Regions from separate parts of the Homo sapiens genome. Here all the other regions are linked to region 2. Evidence: promoter capture Hi-C in 16 types of primary human blood cells and fetal thymus (Javierre and others, 2016). All regions are on one chromosome and are shown on one strand. Each heading gives the region's core, a stretch centred on a gene start or on the middle of the fragment in contact. The rest is flanking DNA. Distances are from core to core; before and after follow the strand shown.

Evidence for each region. Contacts are between HindIII fragments. The CHiCAGO score rates a contact against its expected background, and 5 or more counts as called.
Region 1: a contact is called between a fragment that was not itself captured here and the fragment with the promoter of IRF2BP2 in region 2, in 1 of 17 cell types (activated CD4 T cells). The highest score is 6.0, in activated CD4 T cells.
Region 3: a contact is called between a fragment that was not itself captured here and the fragment with the promoter of IRF2BP2 in region 2, in 9 of 17 cell types (naive CD4 T cells, fetal thymus, activated CD4 T cells and 6 more). The highest score is 9.5, in naive CD4 T cells.
Region 4: a fragment that was not itself captured here is called in contact with the fragment with the promoter of IRF2BP2 in region 2 in 1 of 17 cell types (fetal thymus); the score reaches 5.1 in fetal thymus.

Annotation. Positions count from the first base shown.
Region 1 is chr1:235,311,062-235,313,954 of GRCh38, forward strand. The region is part of intron 2 of ARID4B (AT-rich interaction domain 4B); the gene reads right to left. Among named protein-coding and RNA genes, the nearest start is that of ARID4B, 16 kb to the right of the region's middle. The HindIII fragment of the contact is 2,341 bases long and covers 357-2,697 here.
Region 2 is chr1:234,608,928-234,612,112 of GRCh38, forward strand. IRF2BP2 (interferon regulatory factor 2 binding protein 2) reads right to left here and starts at 1,251. Exons shown (of 2, transcript NM_182972.3): 1 at 1-1,251. The coding sequence starts at 567. RefSeq lists silencers at 66-345, 586-665, 1,046-1,145, 1,206-1,395, 1,876-2,475 and enhancers at 726-1,423, 1,526-1,625. The HindIII fragment of the contact is 9,061 bases long and covers 1-3,185 here.
Region 3 is chr1:235,161,696-235,164,725 of GRCh38, forward strand. No RefSeq gene overlaps it. Among named protein-coding and RNA genes, the nearest start is that of RBM34, 2.0 kb to the left of the region's middle. RefSeq lists an enhancer at 1-8. The HindIII fragment of the contact is 183 bases long and covers 1,472-1,654 here.
Region 4 is chr1:235,336,943-235,339,827 of GRCh38, forward strand. The region is part of intron 2 of GGPS1 (geranylgeranyl diphosphate synthase 1); the gene reads left to right. Among named protein-coding and RNA genes, the nearest start is that of GGPS1, 9.8 kb to the left of the region's middle. The HindIII fragment of the contact is 7,848 bases long and covers 1-2,885 here.

The sequences.
Region 1 (2,893 bases), core at 277-2,776, 700 kb after region 2:
CCTCACTAATCCTCATAGATTACCTTTTAGTAACAATGTCATGCAATGATATTTAACAGTTGGTGGCTGCAATAATTCACAGGGCAAGAGTTCAAGACCAGCCTAGGCAACATAGTGAGACCCCATCTCTAGAAAATATAAAAAATCAACCTATGGTGACCCACACCTGTAGTCCCAACTACTCGAGAGGCTGAGGTGGGAGGATCGCTTGAGCCCAGAAGGTCAAGGCTACAGTGAGCCGTGATTGTACTGTGCACTCCAGCCTGGGTGACAGAGCAAGACCCTGTCTCAAAACAATAATAATAATAATAATAATAATAATAATAATAATAATAATAATTCATAGGACTATAAGAAGCTTTGTATATATAATAGGTACTGGGACTATTTGCCACCTACTAGTACTAGGCATCCAAATAAGTTAACAATACTTACTGAAGGCCAGGCACAGTGGCTCACACCTGTACTTTGGGAGGTCGAGGCAGGCAGATCACTTGAGGTCAGGAGTTTGAGACCAGCCTGGCCAACGTGGCAAAACCCTGTCTCTAATAAAAATACAAAAATTAGCTGGGTGTGATGGCACGGGACTGTAGTCCCAGCTACTTGGGAGGCAGAAACATGAGAATCTCTTGAACCCGGGAGGCAGAGGTTGCAGTGAGCCAAGACTGTGCCACTGCACTCCAGCCTGGGCAACAGAGCAAGACCCTGTCTCAAAAACAAAAAACAAAACAAACAAACAAACAAACAAAAACAGTACCTACTGAATACTAAGCACTGCTACATACCTGCAAAACTTAAAGAAACATACCGGTGCCCTATATAAATTATTTGGTTGTAGAAAAAATAACATGTTGAATGCAAATAAAATCTTACTAAAGCCATCAAGAAGAATGACACAGACTTGTGTAATATGTACTGATATAGAAGAATGTAAAAGAAAATTATGGGCCAGGCATGGTGGCTCACGTCTGTAATCCCAGCACTTTGGGAGGCCGAGGCAGGCAAATCACGAGCTCAAGAGATCAAGACCAGCCTGGCCAACATGGTGAAACCCTGTCTACTAAAAATACAAAAATTAGCTGGGCGTGGTGGCGCGCACCTGTAGTTCCAGCTACTCAGGAGGCTGAGGCAGGAGAACTGCTTGAACCCGGGAGGCAGAGGTTGCAGTTAGCCAAGATCGTGCCACCACACTCTAGTCTGGTGACAGAGCGACAGTCCGTCTCAAAGAAAAGAAAAGAAAAGAAAATTACGAACAATATGCATAGCATAAGCCCATTTCAATACAGTCAAACATAACAAAATAAATACTCATGTTTGATTCATATGTGCAAAGAAAAAGGTGTGGAAGAATACACCCAAAAACTGTTGAATCAAGTTACCAGGAAGTAAGACTTCTACTGTCCACTGAATACTACTATGTAATTTTTAATGTTTACAGAAAATCTTTATTGCTTTCATAATAAAAATTTCTTTAATTTTGCTAGAAGAACTAGTTTAGAAAAATATTTCTCCAAGTTAGAGCAAAGCACGAATAGGTGACTTACTAAATGCCAAAAGCTCTCTGGCTTGCCTTTAAAAAAAACAACAACACTTTAGCAAAGAATATTCAGATTAAAAAAAACAGAAATGGGGCTGGGCGTGGTGGCTCCCACCTGTAATCCTAGCACTTTGAGAAGCCAAGGCAGGCGATCACCTGAGCTCGGGAGTTTGAGACCACCCTAGGTAACATTACAAAACCCCATCTCTACTAAAATACAAAAAATTAGCCGAGCATGGTGGCGCATGCCTGTAGTCCTAGCTACTCAGGAGGCTGAGGCACAAGAATCGTTTGAACCTAGGAGGCGGAGGTTGCACTGAGCCAAGATTGCACCACTGCACTCCAGCCTGGGATGCACAGCAAGATTCTGCTTCAAGAAAAAGAAAAGAAAAGAAAAGAAAAGGGTTCTTTGATGAGGTATCCTTATCAAGATAAAACTGAAAATGTGAAAAGTTGAATTTTTGAGATGCAGTCTCATTCTATCACCTAGGCTGGAGTGCAGTGGTGCGATCTCAGCTTACTGCAATTTCCACTTCCCGGGTTCAAGAGATTCTCCTGCATCAGCCTCCCAAACAGGCATACCACCATGCCTGGCTAATTTTTATATTTTCAGTAGAGACAAGGTTTCACCATGTTGGCCAGGCTGGTCTCAAACTCCTGACCTCAAGTAATCTGCCAGCCTCAAACGCCCAAAGTGCTAGGATTACGGGCATGACCCACCGTGCATGCCTAAGTTGAATTTTTTTTTTTTATTCTGAAATAGACATAAGCCAAGCTGCTTCACTTAACTTTGACAGCAATAGTGGCTCCTCCGTGTTCAGGCTTGTTCAGCTTTTTTTAACTCCTCTCTGGAGTAGAGACTCGGGTTTAGCAGGGCTCCTACAGTCATTCGCCCTACCTGCCTAGGCTGCCCATGCTAGATCAGCTTCAGGTGGCTGACTACACCACATCAGAACAGTATTCTGATCAAGAAATGAAAACAATTTTTGCCATACATAAAAGGCTATACAGATGGATGCTTATCCAGAAAATAAGTATCTTCAGTAGTTCACCTAATCCATAAATAACCCTCTAGGCTTGGAAGTAAAATTTACTTTTCCCTTACAAGGAAAGACGGGAGCAAATTAGGAGAGAGGAGATGTATTATATTTACTAAGAGAAGCTTCTGCATCAGTAAGTACCAGGAAAATAAAGGTTAGACATGAGAGCAAAGAGTTCTTGGAATAAAGAAATCTGGTTATCACCTTCTACTAAACATTCTGTTTTTAAGGATTTCAGAAGGAAAGAATAACAGATTTAAGGCTTAATCACAAAACTGCAACTTCAAAATTAACTTTTAAAAGACCAGAGTCAATC
Region 2 (3,185 bases), core at 1-2,500:
CACCAGGGTGGGCGGCACCGCGTGGCCGCGCCGCGGGTTCGGGCTCTGGCGATTCAGCTCGGGCGGCTCCTCTAGCTTGGAGAAGCCGTTGGGCACCAGGATGCCGTTCACGGGCGGCGGCTGCGGCGTCGGCGGCTGGGCCAGGCTCGCTGCCGGGCGGCTGCTGCCGAAGTCAGAGCCGAGGCGCGGGGGCCTCTCGGCCGCGGCCGCCAACGGGTAGCGCTCCAAGGCCTGCGGCGCGCGCGGGGCCGCCTCGGGGCCGCCGTGGCCAAGCTGCTGCTGCTGCTGCAAAAGGATGTCCTTGGCGGAGAGCGGCGGCGGCTTGGCGGCGGCCGAGGCCGCGGCGCCGGGTGGGGAGCGACCCTCCGGGAAGCAGCCGTGCGCCCGCTTGAGCTGCCGCGCCGTCTCGATGACGAACTCGACGCGGTCGGCGCCCTCGTAGTTGACGCAGCCGCGGCAGACGGGTTCGGTGAAGTCCCAGATCATGGCCCAGGGCATGCGGGGCAGGTCACACAGGTAGCACGACTGCCGCCGGGACGCGGCCGCCACCGCCACCGCCGCGGCCATGTCCGAGGAGCCCGCGACGCCGGAGGAGGAGGCGGAGGAGGAGGAGGGGGCGCCGCCGCCGCCCCCCACCGGCACCACGCGCGCCCTCCTCCCCCCCCAACCCCGCGTCTCCCCCACCAGCGGCGGCGGCGGCCGCAAAGGCGGCGGCGGCGGCGGCAAAGCCCGCGAAGGCTCGGCGCCCGCGCAGCGCCCCCGGTGCACGAGGGGCGGCGGGCGCGAGGTGAGGGGCTGCAGCCGCGGCAGCAGTTCCCCCCGGCCGGCCCGGGCACGGGCGGGCGGCGCGGCGCGGCGGGGCGGCGGGCGCGGCGGTGGGGGCTCGGCCGGAGCCGCGGCGGGCCTCCAGACCGGGGCGAAGACGGGCCGCGCGGGCGCGGGGGAGCGCAGCAGGTCGCGGCGGCGGCCGGCACGGAGTGCGGGGCGGGGGGCGGGGAGGCCGGGGGGGCAGGGGGCGGGGGGCGGCCGCCGGGGCAGGCTCAGCCCGAGCGGCGGGGCATGCCGCGCCGGGGTGGCGGCGGCCGGGCGGCGTGGAGCTCGGGCGCGGCGCGGGCCCCGGGTCGCTCCGCCGCTCTCTCACAGCTCCTGGCGTCGCCGCTCTCCAGCGCCAGCGTCAGCGGCCAGCCCGCCTCAGCTCCGCCGCCGCCACCGTCGCTGCTGCTGCTGCCGCCGCGACCGCTCCACTTCTACAGACTTGATTCTTCGACAGTCTCGCACGGCGCCTGCGCGGGCCCCCTCCCCTCGTGCGCGTGCCCGCCCTCCCGCGCGCGCGCTCCCCCTCCCCCCGCGCGCCGAAGGAGCGCTGCCGGGAGAGCCGGCTACGCGGCGCCCGCCCGCCCGCGGGGCAGCGCAGCAGCGCAGCGCCGGTGTTCCCTTCGGAACACCGCGCAAAGTGATCGAGTGCTTTTCCTCCACTTTCCCTCACTTCGCGCCCCACCCGGCTGTCCCGACCACCCTCAGGATGTTTTCCTCTGGTGTGCCTCTGGGCCAAATCGTGCTAAAAATCATTTTTTTTCTTTTATGCAAGGACACTTTGTCACTTGGTTTCCGTCAGTCTCCTGAGAATGGGGAATTTAGGTCTAGCGTGGTTCACAGTTCTGGTTTTTTAGGAGTTATACTTGAAAGCTCAATGTCGGACACATAGCATGAAATCCGTCACTGGTGCTTTGCATTTGTCTTGGAAAGGACATACGCCCCGCCTGTCCCTTTTACTAACTAGGGAGACTGTGAATATTCCCAAGCCCAGCACCACGTGCACACGCCGCCAGCTGGCTCGCGCGTTTTCCACGGAGCCCTCTGGAGGGGAGGGAGCGCGGTTCGGACTAGCCTCTCCCGAACACCAAGTGCCGCTCTTAGCCCCGTCCAGCCCGCCCTGTTCATCGGGGGCCTCGCCGCGCCAGTCGCCCCGGCTGCCTTATGTAGGTATGCGCGGCGGGCGCGTGACGTGGGCGCGGGGCCGTGGGCGGCCGCCGCCGCGAGTGCGCACGCTCCGCGCAGACGTGCCTCGGCGCCGCTGGCACTAGGGCCTCGTGGAACGAATGCACATTCCAGGGATCCGGGGTCTACGGCCAGCGCGGCCGCGTCACAGCGCAGGCTCCACCCCCTTCGGCGAGTCTGGGCGTCGAGGCGCCGCCCCCGGGCCCGAACTTGGACTCGAGGTGGCGGGAGGCGAGGGCGCGAGTGGGGGGGGGGGGGGTCCTGCTCGCCTCCGCGAGGTTCCCGAGGGCCGTGGGGGCGACCGGCTGGCTGGCTGGCCCGCCGTCCCGCAGGGCGGGCCGCCGACGGAGGCGGACTTTTGCCCTATATGCCACCCAGGCCGGGATGAGCCCGGCCTGCAGGTCTGCCACCGTTGGCAGCCTCAGACTCAGCCCAGACTGAATTGAATGTTTGAGTTTCGCACTTTTATCGGGAGGAGGAGCTAGTGTGTGTTATGGTAAATCACTTTGGGCTGGTCGTTAGTCTCCCTAATACACGTAGGCTTAGTCGCTCTTCAATTGGGACTTTTACACTTAAGCTCTTTAAGGGCGGCCTCTGGAGCTGCTTTTGTTGGGAACACAGGCCCACAACTCTCCCTTGAGACTGGAATGAGCTGGTTAAGTGTGGGAAGAACAGGGTACTAATTATATTATCTTTCCTACAACTGGATTGGTAGGTGGAGAGAAAAAAAAAATCATGCTGACGTTTCTCTCTAGTCGTTGCTATTGAAAATACCAGGTTGCTTCAAAGGATTAACCACAAGGAAGAGGAAAAACACCCTTAGAGAAACAGTGGAGGGAGCTGCTTAAAACACATGAAAAAACCTGTTCGAAAATGGCACAGAAAACGTAATGTCAGACCTAAATGTTTTTACAGGCTAACCTTGAATGTCTTTTGGGGATTTCCATAGAAGGTGCGCCTGTTTTAAAGGTCTCTGCATCTGTTCCTGGATCTTGCCCTGCAATTGCAATCCTGCCTCACCCTCTCCAAGCTGGGAGAATGGGGCCTGTCCAGATCCTTCCCGGGAGTAGCTGGTGCCAGCGGGTTTGGTCACTCCCAGGCCCTGCTGTTGCACACCGCTTTCAAGACCTGTCCCTTTGGTCACCCTCCTCAGAGACCCTGTGACACTCATTCCAGTACATGCCTTC
Region 3 (3,030 bases), core at 313-2,812, 550 kb after region 2:
ACTCTAACGAGTCACGTCAACATACAATTCGAAAGATTGTAATGCGGACCTGCTATTCTACCTGGAAAAGTAGATACTTGGCATTCAAAACGCTTCAAGGTGTTCTCAGCCCGTCTTCCCAGACTCATCTCCCTCCAGCCCCTGACATTCTAGCCTGCTTTCTCCACTGCCTCTACAGTTGTTATTCCTGTCCCCTCTGTTGTAATTGCCCTCCTCTTTCCCCTTCTGCAAAATAATGTCCATCCTTCAAGGCCTACCTCAGATACTGTCTAACTTAGTATTTCTTTGCAGCCAGGTGCGGTGGCTCGCCTGTAATCCTAACACATTTGGAGGCCGAAGTGGGAGGATTGCGTGAGGACTAGGAGTTTGAACCAGCCTGGTCGATCTAGCGAGACTTATTCTCTACAGAAAAGAAATTAGACGGGCACCTTCGCGCTCGGCGCCTGTAGTCCCAGCACTTTGAGAGGCTCGGGCAAGAGGATCCCTTGAGCCCTGGAAGGTCGAGGCTGCAGTAAGCTGTGATCGCATCACTACACTCCAGCCTAAGCGGCAGACCCTGGCTCAAAAAAAAAAAAAAAAAAATTCTTTGCTATTTACAATAGGGATATTTTCCCAAGCCCCCATGGTACTTACTATAATCATTTTTGGTCTGCTTTAGTGTTAGTTACAGTCTCTTTAGATGTAAAGGCAAGACAGTAAGGATTATGTTTTATTCATCATGTATGCTGTGTCTCTATTAGCTGTACATAGTGAATATTTGTTAAATTGACTCTCAGGGTAATAAAAGATTACTAGTTAAATCATCCAATAGTTTGAGTGGCAAAATAGGATTTGACTTTGTTCTTATTTTCTTTCAGACAAGGTGTTGCTCTGTCACCCAGACTGGAGTGTAGTGGTGAGATCACGGCGCACTGCAGCCTTGACTTCCTGGGCTCAAGCCATCCTCCCACCACGGAGTAGCTGGAACTGCAAGCAGCAGCACCATGCCCAGCTAATTTTTTTTTTTTTTTTGGAGACAGAGTCTCGCTCTGTCGCCCAGGCTGGACTGCAGTGGCGCGATCTCAGCTCACTGCAACCTCCGCCTCCCGGGTTCAAGTGAGTCTCCTGCCTCAGCCTCCCAAGTAGCTGGGATTACAGGTGCATGCCACCATGCCCAGCTAATTTTTGTATTTTTTTAGTAGAGACCGGGTTTCACCATGTTAGCCAGGCTGGTCTCGAACCCCTGACCTTGTGATCCGCCCACCTCAGCCTCCCAAAGTGCTGGGAGTACAGGTGTGAGCCACCGCGCCTGGCCTTTTTTTTTTTTTTTTTTTTTAAATAGAGATTGGGGTTTCACTGTGTTTCCCAGGCCGGTCTTGAACTCCTGAGCTTGAGCAGTCCTCCTGCCTTGGCCTCCCAAAGGGTTGGAATTACAGGCGTGAGCCACTGCATCCAGCCAGGATTTGACTTTGAGTCTTTTGGGGACAGCCTAAGCTTTTTGAAAGCTACTCAACCAAGTTGACTGGGAATATATGTGACTTTTACTTCCCCCTTCAGAGAAATTTATGAAAAAAATCCACAATATTCAACTGCTCGGCCCTGGGTTTTGATTACTGGGCCCCTTATTTTGGTTTCCCATAATCTTGATCTTCTGGTATTTCACAAAGATGAAGAAAGCTTATCCATACATGCATGCGATACAACTCAAAAATCTGTTCTATCCAGTCCAGTGAAGAAATTATATTCTATATTTCTAGAATTATAGAATTCTATTCTGTGTATTTTTTGAGACGGAGTTTCACTCTTGTTGCCCAGGCTGGAGTGCAGTGGCACGATCTTGGCTCATTGCAACCTCCGCCTCCCAGGTTCAAGCGATTCTCCTGCCTCAGCCTCCCGAGTAGTTGGGATTACAGGCATGCACCACCATGCCTGGCTAATTTTATATTTTTAATAGAGACAGGGTTTCTCCATGTTGGTCGGGCTGGTCTCGAACTCCTGACCTCAGGTGATCCGCTCGCCTTGACCTCCCAACGTGCTGGGATTACAGGTATGACCCACTGTGCCCAGCTAGGTAGCAGATACTTATAGAAGAAAACAGACTGCGAAAGCAGCTGTGGTTGCAGATAGTTTTAAAATTATCTTCATTGCTGTTCAGTGCTGTTTTTAACCATTTAGAGATCACTTACTGCTTTGAGAGTTTTTTAAAATATGAGGACATGGTGGGACAAGGTGGCTCACGCCTATAATCCCAGCACTTTGGGAGACCAAGACGGAAGGAATGCAAGCCCAGGAGTTTCAGATCAGCGACTGCGCCATTTGCACTCCAGCCTGGGCAACAAGAGCGAAACTCCGTCTCAAAAAAACAAAAGGAGGCCGGGTGCGGTGGCTTACGCCTGTAATCCCAGCGCTTTGGGAGGCCGAGGTGGGTGGATCATCTGAGGTCAGAAGTTTGAGATCAGCCTGGCCAACATGGTGAAACCCCATCTCTACTAAAAATACAAAAATTAGCTAGGCATGGTGGCGGGCGCCTGTAATCCCAGCTAGTCGGGAGGCTGATGCAGGAGAACCACTTGAACCCGGGAGGCAGAGGTTGCAGTGAGCCAAGATGGCGCCATTATACTCCAGCCTGGGCGACAGAGCGAGATTCTGTCTAAAACAAAACAAAACAAACAAAAAAAAGAAATTAACAAGACCCCACTCTAAAGTTTTTTCAGTAGGAAAAAAAACGTTTTGGAGAACACCGTTAAGAAACGTATCATCTTGGGTGGGCGCGGTGGCTCATGCCTGTAATCCCAACACTTTGTGAGGTCAAGGCGGGCAGATTACGAGGTCAGGAGATCGAGACCATCCTGACTAACACGGTGAAACACCCCTCTCTACTAAAAATACAAAAAATTAGCTGGGTGCAGTGGCACGTGCCTGTAGTCCCAGCTACTCGGGAGGCTGAAGTAGGAGGATCACTTGAACCTGGGAGGCAGAAGTTGCAGTGAGCCAAGATTGCACCACTGCACTCCAGCCTGGGGCAACAGAGTGAGACTCCGTCTCAAAAAA
Region 4 (2,885 bases), core at 91-2,590, 730 kb after region 2:
TAATGTCAATGCATGAGAAGAATGAGGGAATGACAGAAATGGAGAATTCAAAGGGAAGGTTGCCCACTGTTTAAGAAAAAGCCAAGAGACTGCTTTTGAGTGACATTTATCCAGCAGTTAGTAACTTATTTCAGTATCTCCCAGTGAGAAACATGGCACAGTTTCACTTTCACTCTACCCAGCTCTTACTGCCAGACATCCTTTAGAACACGCTCACAAACACTAGCTGGAACTGGGCTGGCATTAATAGCAAGCCAGTTATCAGTGCTGACAAAAGTCTAACAAGCATCGCTTGAATGTCTCTTACTCTGCTACTTACAAAGCAAGGACTGCCTACAGTTACATTTTAACCATAATGCTTACTTATGCTGTGACCACCTTCTGTGACTTCCTTTTTTTTAATTCTCATTACTTGGAAATAATGTTTTAAGACATTAGATAACATATTTAAAATTATCACTAGGTACCTCACCTTTTTATTCAAGTACGTTCTTGATCCATGATGGAATACAACCTCAAAAGATACTACTAAAGAAATATGACATTGCACTATGCACATAACACACTTATTTTTTTACAGAGAGCTTCAGAGTTACTAAAGTAACTTAGAGGTGTGCCAGGTCATTTATACTGTTGTAATATTACTCTTGCTAATAAATAATAATAATGCTATCAGTATTTTCTGAAGTCAACCTGGCCAACATGGTGAAACCCTGTATCTACTAAAAATACAAATATTAGCCAAGTATGGTAGCGCATGCCTGTAGTCCCAGCTGAGGCACGGGAGTCACAGGAGCCTAGGAGGCAGAGGTTGCAGTGAGCCGAGATCACGCCACTGCACTCCAGCCTGGGCAACAGAGTGAGACACTGTCTCAAAAAAAAAAAAGGATTTTCTGAAATTAGTAAAGAAAATTATTTTTATTTTTAAATTTCTCATACTTGCTGTCATCTTATGTTTATGTTTGTTTATTTGCCTTAGTGTGGGGCCCTAGATGAGGTGAAGGGTGGGATTAGGGAGAGATGAAGCTGGCAGTGGAGGAAGAAGGGCTCCAAAAAGAGAGACAATAATGTTTAGATCTTAAAGAGGAAGCAGTAATCTTTTAATTTTGAGAGATCTCTGTGATTAGCCTCAGTACTAGAAATTATTTTGGAACTCAGCCAGGCGCGGTGGCTCACATCTGTACTCCCAGCACTTTGGGAGACCGAAGTGGGCAGATGGCTTAAGCCCAGGAGTTCAAGACCAGCCTGGGCAACATGGCAAAACCCTGTCTCTACTAAAAATACAAAAAATTAGCCAGGCATGTGATACGCCCTTGTAGTCCCAGCTTACCTGGGGGACTGAGGTGGGATGATTACCGGAGCCTGGGAGGTTGAGGCTGCAGTAAGCCAAGATCACACCACTGCACCCCAGCCTGGGTGATTAAGGGAGACCCCGTCTCAGAAAAAAAAAAGGGGGGGAAACTTAAAAGCATCAGGCTAAACACTAGCATGTCATCAGAGGGGAAAAAAATATTAAAACTGTAGTACCTCAAAAATAAGCCATATATTGTACTGTTTTCTATATAACATTCAAAAGTAAAATGAAAAATGAAATTTCACATTGAGACTCTGTTTTTCATCTTCAAAAAAATGTGTTTAAGTGATACAGGCCAAGTGCAGTGGCTGACTTATTATCCCAGCACTTTGGGAGGCCAAGTGGGACAGATTGCTTTTGAGCCCAGGGGTTTGAGACCAGCCTGGGCAACAGGGCGAAACCCTGCCTCTACAAAAAATAAATAAATAAAAATAAAATTAGCCAGGCATGGTGGCTTGTTCTTGTAGTCCCAGCTACTCAGGGGACTTGAGCCTAGGAGGTCAAGGCTGCAGTAGGCCGTGATTGTGCCACTGCACTCCAGCCTGGGTGACAGAGCGAGACCCTGTCTCAAAAATAATAATAATAGGCCGGGCGTGGTGGGTCACACCTGTAATCCCAGCACTTCGAGAGGCCAAAGCATGTGGACGACTTGAGGTCAGGAGTTCGAGACCAGCCTGGCCAACATGGGGAAACCCTGTCTCTATTAAAAGTACAAAAAATTGGCCGGGCGCGGTAGCTCACGCATGTAATCCCTACACTTTGGGAGGCTGAGGTGGGTGGATCACCTGAGGTCAGGAATTCAAGACCAGCCTGGCCAACATGATGAAACCGTCTCTACTAAAAATACAAAAAATTAGCTGGATTTAGTGGCGCACGACTGTAATCCCAGCTACTCAGGAGGCTGAGGCAGGAGAATCGCTTGAACCTAGGAGGTGGAGGTTGCAGTGAGCCAAGATCGTGACACTGTACCCCAGCCTGGGCAACAAGAGCAAAACTCGATCTCAGAAAAAAAATACAAAAAATTAGCTAGGCGTAGTGACGCACACCTGTAATCCCAGCTACTCGGGAGGCTGAGACAGGAGAATCCCTTGAACCCAGGAGGCGAAGGTTGTGGTGAGCCGAGCCAAGATCGTGCCATTGCTTTCCAGCCTAGGTGACAGAGCAAAACTTCATCTCCACAAACAAACAAACAAACAAAAAAACCCATAATCCCAGCATTTTGGGAGGCCAACACAGGTGAATTACCTGAGGTCAGGAGTTTGACACCAGCCTGGCCAACATAGTGAAACCCTGTCTCTACTAAAATTACAAAAATTAGCCAGGTGTGGTGGCAGGTGCCTGTAATCCCAGCTACTTGGGAGGCTGAGGCAGGAGAATCGCTTGAACCCAGGGGGCGGAGGTTGCAGTGAGCCGAGATCACACCATTGCACTCTAGCCTGGGTGACAAGAGCGAAATTCCATCTCCAAAAAAAAAAAAAGAAAACAGTATTTTAGTTTTAACTTTTTATGTAACCATTTTCCTGAAACCTTA